2 separate regions of the Homo sapiens genome follow, and region 2 is linked to region 1. The links are contacts of gene promoters, found by promoter capture Hi-C in blood cells and fetal thymus (Javierre and others, 2016). All regions are on one chromosome and are shown on one strand. Each heading gives the region's core, a stretch centred on a gene start or on the middle of the fragment in contact. The rest is flanking DNA. Distances are from core to core; before and after follow the strand shown.

What was found. The method cuts DNA at HindIII sites, captures the fragments that hold promoters and counts their contacts. A CHiCAGO score of 5 or more calls a contact.
Region 2: a contact is called between a fragment that was not itself captured here and the fragment with the promoter of SEC61G in region 1, in 2 of 17 cell types (total B cells and naive CD4 T cells). The highest score is 6.5, in total B cells.

The regions. Positions count from the first base shown.
Region 1 is chr7:54,757,381-54,763,744 of GRCh38, reverse strand. It overlaps SEC61G (SEC61 translocon subunit gamma), which reads left to right and starts at 4,534. Exons shown (of 4, transcript NM_014302.4): 1 at 4,534-4,587; 2 at 6,151-6,250. The coding sequence starts at 6,157. It overlaps SEC61G-DT (SEC61G divergent transcript), which reads right to left and starts at 4,432. Exons shown (of 3, transcript NR_110040.1): 1 at 4,221-4,432. RefSeq lists an enhancer at 3,396-4,331 and a silencer at 4,565-4,884. The HindIII fragment of the contact is 2,422 bases long and covers 4,124-6,364 here.
Region 2 is chr7:50,077,890-50,084,457 of GRCh38, reverse strand. ZPBP (zona pellucida binding protein) reads left to right here. Exons shown (of 8, transcript NM_007009.3): 3 at 2,559-2,684. Among named protein-coding and RNA genes, the nearest start is that of ZPBP, 12 kb to the left of the region's middle. The HindIII fragment of the contact is 3,374 bases long and covers 931-4,304 here.

The DNA of each region.
Region 1 (6,364 bases), core at 3,285-5,784:
CTCCACATCCTTACCAGCACTTGATGTAGTATTTTGCACTTTAGACATTCAAATAGGTTTGCAGTAGTATCTCATTGTTGTTTTAGTTTGCAATCTCCTGGTGACAGGTAATGGTGAGTACCTTTTCATATGATTATTTGCCATCTGTGTATCTTCTTTTATGCAATGTCTGTTCAGATCTTTTGCTTATTTATTTTTTATTTCTTTTTTTTTGAGACGGAGTCTCGCTCTGTTGCCCAGGCTGGAGTGCAGTGGCAAACGATCTCGGCTCACTGCAAGCTCCGCCTCCCGGGTTCACACCATTCTCCTGCCTCAGCCTCCCGAGTAGCAGGGACTACAGGCACCTGCCACCATGCCCGGCTAATTTTTTGTATTTTTAGTAGAGACGGGGTTTCACCGTGTTAGCCAGGATGGTCTCCATCTCCTGACCTTGTGATCTGCCCTGCCTCAGCCTCCCAAAGTGCTGGGATTACAGGCGTGAGCCACCGCCCCCGGCCTTTTTGCTTATTTTTTAATTGGGTTGTTTTCTCCTGAAATATACTAAGAACCTTAACATGCAGTAGCAGCACTGCACCCTGGAGAGCCTGAAACCCTGCACGACTGTGTGGAAAGAACACGACCCTGTGCCAGATCCGCGGAGACTTACTATGTGGAAAGAACACAGCCCTGCATCAGATCTGCGGAGACTGGCCTGGGCAGAAATCAGCACGTGGCCAGCCCAGAGGGTGGCTATGTGTGTCGGAGCAGTTAGACTTCTCTAATACAGGCCAATGCAGGAAAAGAAGTCCATTAGGCAGATTCAGAAAGGGTTTTGTTTTTGTTTTAAGAAAATGATCATGAAGTAAAGGGAACAGTGAGTTTCAGGAGGAAGTAGTCAATTGAAACTGTTTACTGTAATTGATAATATAGAGTCACTGGCAACTAATTCTGTGATCTCTAAATCTTTCGAGTCAACTTCACCACCCTCTTCTGGTTACTGCATTTTTAACTAAATAAGATGGAGTAACTTTTTTTATAGTACTTAAAACCTTGTTTTTTCAAAAAGGGTTTGAGGAGGGGAGAAAACTTTATTTGATCTCATCACATTTAACTCTTAAAATATTCCTGTCTAAAAGACTCTTTATGTTTGAATCTAGGTCCAGTCTTTGATTTTTCCTGGGGAACTGTTGACACTTTCATAATTTCAACCACTGTGTCAGCTTCATTTTTAAAAAGATACAGCTCTTTCCACTTTGTCATCATACCTAAATGAAGTAATACAAAACAAAAAGCTGCTATGGAGTCCTTGGTTCTCCATAGATCTTCTTAAACTTTTTCTTGCTTCAGGCAGAGATTCAAGAATATAAATGGAATATTAATTCAGCTTATCTCAAACGATATTATTAATATTTCATGTATTTTTAAATTGAGGGGCAATTTAAAATTTCTGCTATATATACATTCAATTTACACTCAGTACAATTTATGTCAAAATTTTTAAAACTTGATTTGGTGATCTATATATTGACTTTTTTCCATCTTATAAACATTTTTAAACATACAGAAAAATTGAAAGAATTATTCAATGAACATCTTACACCACAACTAAGTCTACATTTAACATTTTGTTGTATTTGCATTATCACCAGTTTATTCCTCTAACCATGAACCTGCCCTTTTTAAAATCAAAATAAGTTGTAGATACCTGTACATTTCCCTCCTAAATGCATCGACAATTGTATAATTAACTAGAGCTCAATACTTGTTGAGGTTTTTTTTTTTTTTTTTTTTTTTTGAGGAAAAAGGCACAGACCTGCTGCTATGGATGGAATGTTTGTGCGCCTCCAAATTCATATGTGGAAGCCCAAATGTGATGGCATTTGGATGAGGGGCTTCTGGGAGGTAATTAGGTCAGGAGGCTGAAGCCCCATGTTGGGATTAGTGTTCTTACGACCAGGAGGAGAGCTGGTCCTTTCTTTCTCTCTTCCTCCATCTCCCGCAATGTGAGAATGCAATGAGAAAGTAGCTATCTATAAACCAGTAAAAGCCTTCACAAGAACCTGACCATTATCTCTGACTTCCAGTCTCCAGAACTGTGAGAAATAAATGTTTGTTGTGTAAGCCACCACTCTATGATACTCTGTTATAGCTGCCCACGTTGACTAAGACCCCTGTGAAACCCTAAGACCTGTTAAATTACAGAGCATTACATTCACTCCCCAGTTCCCTCACCCGCCTTCTCAATATGTAGCCCCGGGCAAACACTGTTCTGATTTTTTCCACCATTCATTATTTTTGCTTTGTCTAAAATTTCTTGCAAATGGAACTGCACACTGTGCCTTCTTTAGCGTAGGCTTGTTTCACTCACCATGTTTGTCATTCATCAATGTTGTGGCAGAGAGTTTTCTTTCCTTAGCTATGGAGTACTATTCTGTTGTGGGACTATACCTGTATGTTTATTCATTCTATTGATGGTACCCTGTTGCTTTTAGTTCTGTTATCAATAAAGTTACTACGAACATTCCTGTACAAGTCTTTCTGTGAATTTAGTTTCATATATCTTCAATAAGTACCTGGAATTGGAATTGTGGAGCCATAGGTGGTGTATATATGCTTCATATTATGATAAACTACTAAACTTTTCCCAAAAGGGTTATGCCATTTTACACTCCTAGTAACCAGGAATTAGAGTTCTAGAGTTCTGATTGTTACGTATTTTTGCACAGATTTGCTGTTATCAGCCTGTTTTTTTTTTTTTTTTTTTTTACAGACGGAGTCTTGCTCTGTTGCCCAGGCTGGAGTGCAGTCGTGTGACCTCAGCTCACTGCAACCTCCACCTCCCGGGTTCAAGGGATTCTCTTGCCTCAGCCTCCTGAGTAGCTAGGGTTACAGGCATGCGACACCATTCCAGACTAATTTTTGTATTTTTAGTGGAGACGGGGTTTCTCCACGTTGGTCTGGCTGGTCTCAAACTCCCGAAATCAGGTGAGTAGACAATTATAACAATACACTGTAATGAAAGTTATTTGAATGTGGCCTCTCCCAGATTACCTTCTGGTACACATCTCTTTTTGAACCAGATTTTCTTGGATAAGGGGAACCACTGTATGTGTTACTTGATTTTCTGTGTTTTGCTGAAAATACTGTCAACTCAGACATTTGGTGGTTGGGGTGAACTTGCCAACATGTGATTTTATGTTTTTTTGGAATGAATTATTTTTTTGAAAATTATTTATTGAGCATTTACTGTGTTTAGCACTTTACTAGATGCTATATTATACCCACTTGGAGCTTATGGTCTAGTAAGGGGATTTACAGTGTAGGGAGACAGACCGAGGAATAAATAAATAAATGTTAATACAAATGCTATGCAGCAAATGAAGAAGGTATTGTGAAAAAGGAAAAAAGAGCATGAGATAGACAGGATTGCCTTAGATGGTCACTATAGGCCTCTAAGGAGATGACACATGGGCTGAAGTCCCAGGGATGAAGAACTAGTCAAACGCATCTCAGTCTGTTCAGAATTTAAAAGTGACTCTTAAAGCTAAGGCAAGGTATGTGTAGTGTGTATGGACCACCTACAGTCAGATATACGGAGGTGTGTGACCTCTAACCCTGACCCACTGAATCAATATCTGGAGGTTCTGGGGTTACAAATTTCATTTACTAAAAAACTTAACAGGAGATTTCAGTTACTGAAGAAGTTTAAGAAGCACTGAGAGTTGTAACACGTCTTAATGTTCCATCAGCTCTTCCTGAGTTATATTGTTCCTCAGATCCCGTTATGCTCCATTGCTAAAAGGAAACATGGCCGGGCGCGGTGGCTCACGTCTGTAATCCCAGCACTTTGGGAGGCCGAGGCGGGTGGATCGCGAGGTCAGGAGTTCAAGACCAGCCTGGCCAATATGGTGAAACCCCGTCTCTACTGACGGTTTCAGCCATCCGGCGGGGGGTTCCTGGAATGCATCCTTGTGGGTAAGTGGGGAGCTGTGTGTACATTATGACCACTCCCGTAACCAAACCTAGCGTTTGACAAAGGCCTCAATTACAGCGGCATTCATTACCGTGAATGACAGCCAAAGTCAAAGTTTGGGGTGGGGATACTATTTTGAATTAGGCCATAACATTATATTGCTCATAAGCTTCATTTCGACCAACATTATATACATACAAAAAGTATGTACCGTAAGGACACACATCAAGCTGGACCGCAGGAAAAAAAACCACAACTTAGGATTTACCTAGTCAGCCGCTACTAGAGAGCAAGCACCGCGCAAGGCCGCTGGGGCTCGTGCTGTGGACGTGAGTGGGTTGAGGTCGGGCTGGTGGGGTAACCCGGGATCCAGCCGGAAAAAAGGGATAACGCTAGACTCACACTCCTAAGGAAGGCCAACGCCCCAACTAGCGAGCTCCGCAATGCATCTCTTCCAGGAAGCGTGGCCGGGCGCACGTCGCGCTGCGCTTGCGCACTGAGGTTTCGCGTAAGGAACCAATAGGACGGAGGAGTGGGCGGGCTGTTGGCAGAAACCCGGATTCCGGTTCCGGTGGGCCTCCATCAGCAAGCTCCAGTGCTACGTGTCCCTGGCATTTTAGGTGTCGGTTGGGTAGGTGAGTTTCTTCCCACCGGTCGGTACGGGCGAACGGGGCGGCCACACCTTTGCGACTCTTGGGGGCAGCGGGCGTGGGCGAGCCGGCGTGTCTCCCCGGGCGGCCGTCGCGGGGCGGGCGGTAAGTGGTCCCCTGGCTCAGGGCCGGGGTCTGGCCGCCGACATCCCACCAACTCGGCCTCTGGCGGAAGGCAGACCCAGGGCCGCGGACTCCCGGCGAGCTGGGTGGCCGGCCCGCGGGGCTCCAGGGCTTAGCGTCCTGCCCCGGCGTCTTCTGTGCTGCAGCCAAAGATGATGTCCTGCTGCCCGATCCCTTCGGGGTTGGCTCTGTGTGCTGTTGTGGAGTCCTGTCTGGGAAGAGCTGTACTCAGCTCTGGTCCTGCCGCCGCTTCCGTGGTTTAAAGTGAGAGCATTGGTCTAGAGTCTAGTTCGAGAGATCATAGTTGGTTTTTGGATCTCTACCCCTGACATTGAGTGCGGTATTGTGTGTAGCGTGCGTTTTTCTGGATAAAGAATTCTTAGCTTCCTTCGTGACAACTATGATTACAAAAAGTTTAAGCCCTTTGGATTTCAAGAGCAAAGTTGAGTGAAATACTGAGAAAACAGACATTACTGTGTTTTTGCCCCCAGAACGTTGCAGAATTCCTGGTGTTTCATTGACATTATTTCATTTCGTTGTCCACACCCTACACTAAGGAAGGCAACTGGGGCTTACAGAGGTTTACATTCCATAGCCAGTGATTTGAACTACCACCTGGCCACTGTTCTGAGTACTGGAAATGGAGGAAAATACAAATAACACCCTGGCTGCTTTACTTACTATAGCAGTGGCTCTCAAAGCTAAGATCGGATAACATTTCTATTGGGTAATAGATTCCTCAAAAGAACCTGTATGGTAAAATATATAGCCCTGTTTCCTTAAAAGATGTGTTCAAATCGAAAAGTTTGAAATTTAGCTAGTAGCTTCTCAGAATTTGCGTCTTCCTTTAGCCATTCTTTATACTTTAGAAAAGTATGTTGTATTGGCACGTTTTAGAAAAATCAAGGTTGAAATTCACGTTTGCCTCTATTCTAGGCTCTTGCAGCACCGTAGTTGGCATTCACTGTACAAGACACTGGCTTCTGCGTAGTTTAAAATAAAATATGGAAAGTAATTGTTGGATCTCAACACTGATGGTTCCTTAGGAGCGGTGAGGGGACTGTAGAATGAGAAATGGATGGGACTGCAGAGTGAGAAAAGGAATGGATGTGTTACCAATTGCGTAACCTTTTTTAACCTTTTAATAGAGATAGGCTTTTTATATTGCGTGTGCTGTTCTTTGTCAGTGAAGATATCATGAGTAAGATCTGTGCTTTTCTTATTGCCTTTGATAATTAACTGAAATTTCCAAAAATAATATCAATTTAGGCTTTGGAGTTTGTTTTTTGTTTTATTTTAGGAGGTGGAATTGACCCATGTTAGACGTGAATTCAGTGGCTGGTCTCATTTACATCTTTATATAAATGAGCAAGTGCTTATTGTATGAGAACCAATACCAGTGAGTATCTTTTTTGTTTTAAACAGGCAGTCATGGATCAGGTAATGCAGTTTGTTGAGCCAAGTCGGCAGTTTGTAAAGGACTCCATTCGGCTGGTTAAAAGATGCACTAAACCTGATAGAAAAGGTAATTGCTTGACTATGAGAGAAAAAATTAAATCTTTGCATTTTCTAAGCCTTTTGTTTGATTAACATCTTGATTAATAGCCCTTGCATTACTTTGATCAACATTTTTATTGAT
Region 2 (6,568 bases), core at 1,368-3,867, 4.7 Mb after region 1:
TGTATTAATTAATTCACTGAGCCTTTATTTACATTTTGTTGAACTTTTAGTTTATTCTGTTTTTTTGGTGTATGTAATAAATACCATTTTGTATTTTTTTTTTTTTTGGTACATGTTCAGAAGTTTTCTGGGACTGTATTATCCAGGAGAAGAGGTTTTAGCATCATAGGACCTGAGCATTCTCATTCTCACTAACTTTGCTCTTCAAAAAGGCTGCACCAGTTCACACTTCCTTCAGTGGTGCTTGAGGGGGTCCCATTTTCCCACATCCTTATCAGCACAAAATTTTACCCAACTTTTTCCATTTTTGGTAAGCTGAAGATTAAGTTGCCTCTACCCATTCTTTTCTTTGTTGTTTTCAAAGGAGTTCTTTTTCATATTGTTTATATTCCAGTTATAAATGCATTATTAACTTTGTTGCAAATATCCTCTCCCTACAGTCAAATTTGTTAACTTTGCCTATGTTATACAGGATCAAACAGAAAGTGTTACCATTTAAGAAGTTGAGTTCAGTATTTTTATATTTGTGCTTTTTGCATTGAGATAATTTTCTATAACTGGTTCAGACATAAAGGTATTATTTTCTTTAAATAATTACTTGCCTTCAGTTATTCAGTGTACCTGGAATTTATTTTTATATACGGTAAGAGGTATAAATCTAAGTTTACATTTGCATGTATTTTGAGATAACTTTTAACTATAATTTATTGATAATCTATATTTTCTCCAGTGATTTTAGGTACCTTGTCTACCACATATATATCAGTTATTTATGCCAATTTGATTTTTTCCCTAGACCCATTATTTGTTCCTACACCAGGCCTCTCTTTTTTTATTTAGTGTAAATGTTAATATATCTCAGTAACTCTTATTGCTAGTCCCTCCTCTTTGCTTTTCTGTTATAGAATTCTTTCAGATATTTATGAAGCTTTAATCTTCCAAATGGATTTTAGAATCAGTATTGAAGAGCTTCTTAAATAATTTCTTCTGGGATTTTGCTTATGTGTTGATAAATAAATTTGGGAATAAATTGACATCTTTAAAGTTATGTGTATGCAGTCATGATTATGGCATTTTGGTCTAATTTTATGTCTTTTGTTAGAGCCTGAAGATGTTTCCCACAGAGGTCTTACTTGATTATAGAGTGACTTTTGTTTATTGTACTCTAAATATTATCTTCCTTCCTATAAAATGGTTTAATGCATTATTGTTGATGTAGAGGAATATTATTTGTTTTTGTATGTTGATCTTGCATTGGGAAACTCTTCTGGATTCATTTATATTTGCTGTGAAATAGGTACAGGGGTTAGTGGGGGCGAGAGGAAGGGTACAGTCATGGTATGAGGTACTGTCAAGCCAAAGCACAAAGGATATACTTATGCTGAGTCTCCAAAGATGAGGAGGAATTTATATCAATAAAATCACAAAAGAATGATGCTGTGTGCTGCTGTGGCGTGGTTAGGGCAGAGGGTGTGAAAAGAGGTATAGTGAGATATATGCAAAAGATCATGGAGAGTAGGGCCAGTAAATCATGCTGAGGAGTGAAAATTTATGGGGTAAGCATTTATTAAAGAAGTTAGGCAATCTATTAATGCAAGCATTTCATTAAAGTACTCAAAAAGAAAAAAATCACCTCAATCAATATAGAACAAACATTTCTTAAAATTCAGTGCTGATTTATGTTTATGATAAAAACAAATAACCAAGAACAGAGGGGATCTTTCTTAACCTGTGGAAGGGTATGTACCTAAAAGTACATTCAATAAACATCATGCTTTATGGTAAAACTTTAGAGGAAGTCTCTTAAAAGTCAAAGAGAATTTTGATTCTCTTTATTTTACTCGATCACAGAAATCTTTGTATACAGTGTATCAGTGAAGAGTTGGCATGCAGAGTCTAAAGGGTTGTTGCAACCTTTCCTAAAAGTTTACTTATGAGTAAACTTAAAATAATGGAATCTTTACCGGGTTCCTTTTGTATCTCCTAAAGGATACTATTTTTGCTTACTTATCAGGATTTAAATTTCAAAGCAAATGGAACAAAATGCTTTAATATTTAAAATCAATAAAAGCATAAATTTGCTAACTTTTTAATCACTTTATCATTTTTATTCAGTACATCATGCTACATCATTGTGAATAATGCATTATTCTGCTAATCTAAACAATTTTTAAGCTCTAATCATGTTTGGTGTCTTTACAAAACAGATAAAGTGTAGATATAGTATTATCTTAATACTTTGTTATTGAAATAATATTCTGAGAATAAAACAGGTTAGTGTATATGAGCTCTGAATGAAAAGTACTAACACATTATGCTAAGGTTGGGGATACATGTACACACACATACATGCATACACATATATACATACAAATACATAATATATTTTTAATGTTAATTGCATAGAATGCAATGAAATTTAGTTTTTATCAAGTAATAGGAGCAATAATTCAAAGTACTCTTATTATTGCATGTAACCCAAACTACAAAAGTGTACATTATAGAGAAAGAAAAGAAGATAAAATACTATTGGAACATTTTAAATATTGTATTTTCAGTGAAAGCGTATGTCATGCTCCATCAAAAGAGTCCACACGTGTTATGTGTAACGCAACAACTGCGAAATGCTGAACTGATAGACCCATCATTCCAATGGTATGGGCCTAAAGGAAAAGTTGTTTCAGGTAGGATTTTGTTTCAATTATTGTAATTAAATAAATGTATCTGAATTGTGTGCAACACAAAAAGAATGTTTGTATCTCATACATATTTATGTTATTTCCTCAATTCTTTTTCTTGTGATTTCCTTTTGGAGTTAGAGCTAACAATGTAGATAGTGTTCCCATTTTTACATATTTTATTTTGATACAGGGACATACTCTAAGAATGAACTGTTTGGGGGGTTCTCAAAGCATCTATAATCCCCCAAAGTTACTTTTTCTCACTTAAAAAATACTGTTTGTATGACTGATTTGATCAGTATTTCCTCTAGTCAACTTCTTGTTTTTTAATCCTGAAATACAGATTTTACTTTTTACTTTTATTCTAATTTTTTGATTGGATAAAAGCTGATTTTTAACACTGTAGTTTTAAAAAACTACAGTTAACTTAGCTGGCTTTGTTTCTTGCCTTGCAAAAAATATAGATTAATGAATTTTCATTTTGAAGATCTGTTCAGTCATTTTTGCATACCCTCAGAGAAAGTTTTCCTTTATTGCTCTATTTACCATGTTTTCTTTCCTTTCTTTTTAAAAATCTTATTGCTATTTTGAGATCGTGCCTGTGGATAGAAACTTACAGGCTTATTTTATTTTCTTGGATGAAGGAGAGCAATATATTTATACAAAGACTTGCTAAAGAAACATAGGAAATACTAATTTTTAATATGTTTTAATTCATATTTATATAGCTAAGAGATCTCAGCTGTATGTTTCTGTGGTATTTATGTTGATACAAAAATAGGTAATTTTAAAGAATTAATCTCCTCTTTGGGTCAGTCTGTGTTTTTCTTAGGACAAATTATTCATCATTCATTTAGTGAATGACTACTTGGTGGAAGCCGCTGTGCTAGGTTTTATGGGGGATAGAAAGATCAGACATAACCTCTGCCTCACTACACTAGCAAAGTAGGAACGATTGTGCAATTTGTTCATGGGATCAGCAGGGCTCAACAACAGAAATTCTAATAAGTTTTGCAGCTTATATAATCAGAGAAGTGATCCAGGCGTAAAAGCACCCAGTAGTGGAAATACAATCAAATTTTATTTTTATCACTCTCTAATAGTAGCACATAATGTAATAGAAACATGTGTTTTAAATATGTTTTACATTTTATATTGAAACTCTGCAAGTTGAAATATAGAAACATTTAAGCATTGAATTTTTTATTGTCATTTTTTGCTCGTTTGATTTGGAAATTGAAATTTGAAATTTTTTCTTCTCCGAGGTGCAACGCCAGGTCTTGCAGTTTATATTGCAAAATATAGTATGAAATTCAATTTATCCTTTAAGTAGGAGCAATATTTATTTTACTCACTCTTATAATAGAAAAGTAGGTATTGATAAATGTAGTTATTTCCAGGTAAAGATATAATCCTGTTACTACATTGGTTTTTATCTTTATAAAAACTGTTCTCAGGGAATTCTGGTATTTTAACTTTATGATTATATTATGGTTTTCAATACAGTATTTTATCATAGGTCACTCTCTACCAGTTGTAAAACTTATTAAGAACACTATACTTTTTATTTCAGAAAGGACTGGAAGAGGTCTAATGTCTTAAAGTTTGAAGAACAGAGAAGCTTTTTGGACTGTAGTTTAAACTGCACTGTACTTATCATTTTATGGATATCTCAAAGATAGTTTCCCTTGATTTGAGCCAAATAAATCATGTAATTATGTGATTACTTGTACATTCCTTTGGAGAAAATACTCAAGTTGTTTAGATGTGTTATGAAACATAGGGAGCAAGTCTTATATTTGGTGTCTCTCTTTTTCTCTGTTTCTTGAAAATTTAGTATTGTTTATTTACAAAGGTAATTGCATTTATTGCAACAAGTTCTGTACCTCCCACTCTGACCCTAATACTGTTCTGATGAATTAACTCTTTTTGGTGTGGGGACTTTTCCTGCTTTTCTAAATATTCACACAAACATGTATAAGTACTCACACATGTGTTCAGCTTTCCTACATCAAGCTATTAACATATCATTTACCTTACATAGTTGCCATTTTGTGTGTGTGTGGTGAGAACATTTGAGATTTACTCTCATAAAATTTCAAGTATACAATACATTATTGTTAACTGTATTTACCATTCTATACATTAGGTCTCCTGAACTTATTCATCTTATAACTGAAATTTTATACTCTTGGACCAAGAACCACATGTCTCCAACCCCCCAGTCCCTGGTAACCACCATTCTACCCTATATTTGTGGTAGGGTGGAGTGTGAATGTGACTTTTGTATGAGTATTAGTGTGACTTTTTTAGATTCCACATATTTCAGTTTCTGCCTTATTTTACTTAGCACAGTGAATTTTATAAAAATAATAAATACATAAGATTACTATGTGTCAGATATTATTCTAACAATTTACACATATTAATTTTAACAATGACCTTTTGCAGTAATTACAGCCACTTTCTCCATTTTATAAATGGGAAAACAAAAGCATTAAGAGAATAAGGTACTTTCCTAAAGTCATTATGTCTGAAGTCTTTTATCAGAGTTCATAGATATAATCTCAATGAGGTAGGAACACACCATTTTATGAATTTTGGTAGATTGTATCTTTCAAGGAATTTGTCCAACATTGGATTTTTAAATGTGTTGTATTTATATGCATAAAGTAGTTTGTAATATTTTGTGTTATCTCTTTATAGATAACAGATTTCTGGTTTTCAGAATCTATAGGGATGTGTCCTCATTCACTCCTGATGTTGGTTGTGTCTTCTCTCTCTTTTTTTTTGTTCTCTCTTACTAGTTATGTTGAGTATCTTTTCGTATGCTTGTTGTCCACATGTTTCACTTCTTTTGAGAAGTGTCTATTCATGTCTTTTGCCCATTTTTTAGTGGAGTTGCTTGATTTTTGTTTGTTTTGTTAAGTTCCTTATAGATTCTGGTTATTAGACTTCATGGGAGGCATAGTTTGCAAACATTTTCTCCCATTCTGTAGGTTGTTTGTTTACTTTGTTGATAGTTTCTTTTACTATGCAGAGCTCCTTAGTTTAATTAGTTTCCACTTGTCTGTTTTTGTTTGTCTTGCAATTGCTTTTGGAGTCTTGTTCATGAAAGCTTTGCCAGTGCCTATGTTCAGAGTGGTGTTTCCTAGATTTTCTTTTAGTATTTTTATTGTTTTAGGTCTTACACTTAAGTCTTTTAAAAATTTTTCTTAAGAATATTATTTTTTTTTAATTTTAGGTACATAGTAGGTGTATATATGTATGGGGTGGATAAGATGTTTTGATACAGGCAGTTAATGTGAAATAAGCACATCATGGAGAATGGGGTATCCATCCCCTAAAGCATTTATTCCTTAGGTTATAAATATTCCAATTACATTCTTTAAGTTATTTTAATATATGCAATTAAGTTATTATTGACTATAGTCATCCTGTTGTGCTATCAAATAGTAGGTCTTATTCATTTTTTCTATTTTTTGGTACCCATTAATCATCCCCACTTCCCCCTAAAACTCCCCACTACACTTCCCAGCCTCTGGTAACCATCCTTCTACTGTCTATGTCCATGAGTTCAATTGATTTGATTTTTAGATCCTACAGACAAGTGAGAACATGCAATGTTTGTCTTCTTATGACTGCTTATTTCGCTTAACATAATGATCTCCAGTTCCAGCCATGTTGTTGCAAATGTCTGGATCTCATTCCTTTTTATGGCTGAACAGTACTCCATTGTGTATATGTACCACATTTTCTTTATCCATTCATCTGCTGATGGACATGTAGTTTGCTTCTAAATCTTAGCTATTGTAAGCAGTGCTGCAACACACAGGAATGCAGATACCTCTTCAATATATTGATTTCCTTTCTTGTGGGTATGTACC